2 separate regions of the Homo sapiens genome follow, and region 2 is linked to region 1. Evidence: promoter capture Hi-C in 16 types of primary human blood cells and fetal thymus (Javierre and others, 2016). All regions are on one chromosome and are shown on one strand. The core of a region is centred on a gene start or on the middle of the fragment in contact, and the rest is flanking DNA. Distances in the headings are between cores, read along the strand shown.

The links. The method cuts DNA at HindIII sites, captures the fragments that hold promoters and counts their contacts. A CHiCAGO score of 5 or more calls a contact.
Region 2: a contact is called between the fragment with the promoter of HOXC11 here and a fragment that was not itself captured in region 1, in 1 of 17 cell types (total B cells). The highest score is 5.9, in total B cells.

Annotation. Positions count from the first base shown.
Region 1 is chr12:54,045,561-54,048,390 of GRCh38, forward strand. It overlaps a transcript of HOXC4 not described here. Among named protein-coding and RNA genes, the nearest start is that of HOXC4, 6.9 kb to the right of the region's middle. RefSeq lists an enhancer at 881-1,780. The HindIII fragment of the contact is 4,043 bases long and covers 1-2,830 here.
Region 2 is chr12:53,971,654-53,974,483 of GRCh38, forward strand. HOXC11 (homeobox C11) reads left to right here and starts at 1,473. Exons shown (of 2, transcript NM_014212.4): 1 at 1,473-2,270. The coding sequence starts at 1,589. All of the region lies in intron 1 of HOTAIR (HOX transcript antisense RNA), which reads right to left. RefSeq lists an enhancer at 2,699-2,830. The HindIII fragment of the contact is 12,279 bases long and covers 1-2,830 here.

The DNA of each region.
Region 1 (2,830 bases), core at 171-2,670:
TTACAGTCTTTGCATTTTTGCTGAAAAACTTACATGTTTGAACATATGTTTAGAGATGGTTTCATAATGCATGCATCTGTGTATAGGGGCATAGATCTCCCTTCTAGAAGGACTTAAACTTACTGCATCTCTCTGTCTCCCTCTCTATCTCTGTGTCTATGATATAAAAAGATATTAGGTGAGTGGGGGTAGGGAACAAATATATTTTGGATGTTTGGCTTATTAAAGCAAGTAATTCTGTCTCTATTTCTAAGGCCATCTCCAAAATCTAGTCCCACTAAGTTATCTGTCCCTCGAAAACCTACTCTAGGGGTCATAGACTGCCTCCAGGCTGCCTCTGTGACCTGAGATCCAAGCCGAAGCTCCCTACCTCTCAAGGTAGCCACTAAAAAGAAGGGGGAGAGAAGAAAGGGGAGAGTCCTCCAGCCCAGTTCCTGTTGGATCCCCAGGGCAAGAGGCTGACAGGGGCTTGTATATCTCCCTACACCCCCCACTGGGCCTTTGAAATGTGGGGGAAAAAGGGATCAAGTCCCCAACTGTTTTTATAGGGTGCCCAAATGATGCCAGGGTTACTGCACAACCCATAGGTTCCTCCTCCCCAGTTGTTCTCGGTGCCCAGGGCCCAATTAAGCGGCCGCCTTGCGCCCAGCAGCCCCGCTCTTATCGGCTGGGATTGATGCCTCCGCGTCTCCTGTATATCATTTCCAAGATTTTTTCTGTCCAACTCCTCGGCTCCTTTGGCTTCCGCGGCTTTGACTAATGATTGCTACAGATGCCAACGTCTCCAGAATCCTAATAGCCAGGCAGGCGGACTCTTATTTACCCGGCAACATTGCTGTGGGGGAGGGGGCCTGGGGGACAAGTATTGGGGTGTCGTAGGTCAGGGGACAGGGAGAAGGTTGTGGCCAACTCAAGTGTCACTGAACTTCTTCCCAGTCAGAAAGACATTCCCAATCCCCTTCTCTCCTTGAGGGAAATATATATATATATATACACAGTTAATGGTAACTCATTGCTGCCTCGTTAGAAAAGATCAAAGAATGAACACAACGTGGTAGAATAAGCAGAGCAATGTTTATTTGTTGTAAATAAATGAGAGAATAAGTGGAAAACCAGCAGTTTGGGGAGGAAAAAGAGAAAGGGAAAGAAGTCAGCCACAGTGGGAGAAGGGGCTCCTTTTCTTCATTTCTTGTCTTCCCCTTTCTCTCCCCACCCTAAGTCTACCCTTCTCATCAATTTCTCCCCTCTTTCCCTTCCTTCGCCTCACCTTCAATCCCTTGGGTGGAGGGGCTGAACAGCGTGTTCCCGGGCGGAGGTGCGCGCAGCCACCCCAGGCTGCTGCCAGGTGCCCGCTGGGGCTGCCAGGGCGAGGAGGCCTCTGGGCTGTGGAGCGAAAGTCAGATCCACCGCCTACTGCGGGGTAGGGGCCGCAGTGGGGACCGCCAGCCCTGTGGTCCCTCTCGCGCTGACTGGCGTAAAGTTGTGGCCGAATTCGCATCTCTTCTGGTGCTTCTCGCCCGCCAGCGCAGGGCCCAGGTGTTTGAGGCGAAGGGGCTCTAGCTCCCCGCAAGCCTGGAGCCAGGCGTCGCGCTTCCTCCGGGCTTAATCCAGACCTTTCAACACACACCTCATTCGGGGGAGGAGAAAAGCACAGGACCGCGGAGAGCCCAGCTTTGAGGCCAGGCCTGAAGGGATAACCCACACAGGGAACGTTTTCCTATCAGAGAATAATGGAGCACAAAATAATTCAGAAAGCGAATGGGCAGGACCACAGCCTGAGAGTCCCGCGCCGCGGGGCCGCTGCAGAGCCGGTCTCCCGAGCACCGCGGCAGGACCATTTCGTTGGAATGTAGGGCGAGGCCGAAGCCCGCCCCGGACCCAGGCCGCGAGGTGCGCGCCGGCCGCCGAGGGGCCGCCTGTAAATTACAGCCCGCCGGGAGGACTCGGAAATACACAAAAGGAGCCGAAAGATTTAAACAGTCGGAGGCAGAGGCGTCCCGAGGCGGCCAAAGCGGAAATCAATCACGTAATTAAAACAGGGAGGGGACGAAGCCCAAGGCTGGGGGTCCCGGGTTCGGAGGAGGCGGCCAAGGTGCAGGCCGAGGCTGGCGAGCGGCTTAGGGACGTGGCTCGCCCGCCAGGACCAGAGCGCGCGGAGGGGCTTCGGGGAAGTTTATAACACATCGCTATTGATTCCCGCTTGGCTAGGAAGAGCAGACTCTGGTGCCCTCTCCCAGGCCAGACCCTGAAGCCTCCGATGGCCCCTTCTCCGACTTTCCCGTTTTTGTGGGGTTGAGACGCGCAGTTGCAGTTGAAGGCCGCTCCCCAGATCCCACTGGTGCCACGATTTTGCCAAGGCAAGTTTGCGAACCCAAATGGCATCAAGATGCTGCCTTTGGGTTTGAGGGGATGGAGGGAGGTGACACCCCAGTTTCAGGCACTAAGAAATCTCTCTCGGCCTTGATTCCTCCAACCCAGGATTCAAAGCATGCCCGGAAAGACTCTGATCTATGGGCCGAGGCTTGGAAGGGGTGTGCGAGGCAGACGGGGTTATTAAAGGGAGAGCTTGGGGCTGAGCAAACTGGACCCCTTTGGGCTGGAAAGGAGAAAGAACAGCTCCTGGAAGAGAAAAAAAGGCACACCGGGAGCTGTGTTTTGTGAGGGGAAGATCTTATTATTGAGGTTAATCATGGTAATGATCTGGTATGGCTGGGTCAGCCCAGGAGACCGCGCTCTCCAAAGTTCTTTCTCACAGAGGTTTCTCTGGGGGAGTCAAGGGTTCCCCAACTTCACTATGGTTGGGGAAAATAAAATAAAGACCTCCAATCCT
Region 2 (2,830 bases), core at 223-2,722, 74 kb before region 1:
GGTTCTTCCCCTCCTTCCCAAACAAATTGTGCCCTGGCAGCTCCTCTTTGGATCCAAGGTTGCTTTCAGCTCATGCTGGTTGCTTTTGGCCCCTTGGACCCAGTCCAGAACCTTTCAATAAAGTGATTTTCAGATGCCCACATGTGTCCTGTGGTGCTCAGAGGGATGGAAGGCAAGGGGTTGGGGATGCAGAATGACTGAGCCTACTTCTTGGGCTACAGCTATCCAGGAGGCTGACAGACTTGTAGGAGGGCAGGACAGGGCTGAGAAATAGGAAGGAGGCACTAAGATCTGGTCACAGCCCCAGGGACAGAGGCTGGGGGCTTTGACTAGGGAGTGGCCGCTGGGCCTCCCCTGATGCCACAGCATCCACCGCTCCTTTCCACTGTCTGGTTAGTCTCTTCTGGAGACCCATACCTGGCCCCACCACCCACCTTACAGTCCTCAAAATCATCCAAGGATAAGAACCCCAAACCTAGTCCCCCCCACCATATTCTTCCTGGACCCCTACACTAGGCTTCTTTTCAGCGCACTAGCTGAGGCTGAGCCACTAAGCCAAAGGGCCCTGACATAGAAGATACATGGCTCTCATTCCAATCCTTTTCTTTGGGGTTTGGGATTTGAAAATCCACAGTGGATGTAGCTTTCTTCACATTGATTGACAATAAAGGCAGGCATGAAATATTCACCCAGGGCCACTCTCTCATACTAAATATTTAACACAACATTAGAGAAGGTTTTTCCCAGACTTCGCCAGGCACCGGCTGGGCGGCTGGCGCACTGCTCACCACTCGTTTATGACTAATCTGACTCCCTAGCCAGGGGCAGCACAGCAAGCCAGACAAAGTTGGGACACTGGCTTGCAGCTGGGCTGCCTCACCTTTGGGAAACTTCAGATACTCTTCCGGGAGTCTCTCTAAGGACTCCAGAAAGGTAGTCTTGACACCCAGCTCTGGCCAGGAAAAGAGTGGACTTCTTCAAACTCTTGTGAACAGGCGGTGTCTCTGCGGGTTGGAAGGGTAAGAGTCCCTGAGATTTAAGGGAAAGGATTCACTTCTCTGGGGAAATCAGGCAGTGGGGAAAGAAGTCCTCACTCCCACCCTCCTGGTGCTGCTCACAGAGAGGAGGCAAGACCCCCATACATGAGAGCCCTCCTCCTTCCCCCAATCCTGGGGGAAAAAAGAGCAGCAGCTAGAAAAAAATACAATTACCCCTTCCCAGCCACCACCCTCGCCCATCCCACCGCCCACCCCACCCCAACCCTCTCTCTCCTCCTTTGCTCGTGCTGTGGTATGGAGAGAAGGGGAGTGACGAGAGAAAAACGAATACAAATCTGCAATTGATTTTCATAATGTTTCTGCGGTGTTTGCAAACCAATCGCCTGAACGTCCCCGATCTTACCTAAGAGAGAACCCCTCCTACGTCTGCGAAGTGCTCCGAACTGATATATGACAATATCTACTTTGGATCACGTGCTCAGAGAGAGAGAGACTAAGACGGATAACGCGTCATCTCGCCTTCCCAAATTTTCCCCCCTCGCTAGACCGGGTCCAAAACCTCCATCCGGAGCCGGCAGGAGAGGAGAACGATGTTTAACTCGGTCAACCTGGGCAACTTCTGCTCTCCGTCGCGCAAGGAGAGGGGCGCAGATTTCGGCGAGCGAGGGAGCTGCGCCTCCAACCTCTATCTGCCCAGTTGCACTTACTACATGCCCGAGTTCTCCACGGTCTCCTCCTTCCTGCCCCAGGCCCCCTCTCGTCAGATCTCCTATCCCTACTCGGCCCAAGTGCCCCCGGTCCGGGAGGTCTCCTACGGCCTGGAGCCATCCGGCAAGTGGCACCATCGGAACAGCTACTCCTCCTGCTATGCGGCGGCCGACGAGCTTATGCACCGGGAGTGCCTGCCTCCTTCCACCGTCACCGAGATCCTCATGAAAAACGAAGGCTCCTACGGCGGCCACCACCACCCCAGCGCCCCGCACGCAACCCCCGCCGGCTTCTACTCCTCAGTCAACAAGAACAGCGTCCTGCCTCAAGCCTTCGACCGTTTCTTCGACAACGCCTACTGCGGTGGCGGCGACCCGCCCGCCGAGCCCCCCTGCTCCGGCAAGGGCGAGGCCAAGGGGGAGCCCGAGGCACCCCCGGCCTCGGGACTGGCGTCCCGGGCTGAGGCGGGTGCCGAGGCGGAGGCTGAGGAGGAGAACACAAATCCCAGCTCGTCCGGTTCAGCCCACTCCGTGGCCAAGGAGCCGGCCAAAGGAGCCGCCCCCAGTAGGTAGCAGCGGCCGGGGAACGGGCGGGCAGCGAGGGAGGGAGCGAGAGAGGGAGGGCGAGAGAAGGGGGGAGGCAAGGGGAGCGGGGACGGCCTCGTGTTTTGGGTCAGTCCGATTTTATGTGGAGTTTTATAAGCATTCAAAGGATTTTATTATAACCTACAAAGCCCTCTCTCCCAACGACTCGACTTTTTACGATGGAGAAGGGGTGGGGAGGGAGGGAAAAGGGCTCTTTGGAAAAGCCGGGTGAACCCCCCTCCCCCGTTATCTCCCTCGGTCTGTGAAATTTTTAAAAGCGCAACCATTGCGGGCGATATTAACTTTGATCGTGAACTTAGAGGAGCATTTAAGGAAGTATGGGGAGCCGGGCTGCCGAGGAGTGGGGAGGAGGGGAGGGGTGGAGGGGGAGAAAGGGGAGGGCGAGGGAAAGACAGGGAGAGATCCAGAGAGGGGGAGAGGTGGGGGAGAGGAGCAATGGAGCAGAACCTGAGACCGGAGAGGCAAGCCAGGACCGCTATGATCCTTCTTAAAACTAGTTTTGAAAATGTTCAAACTATG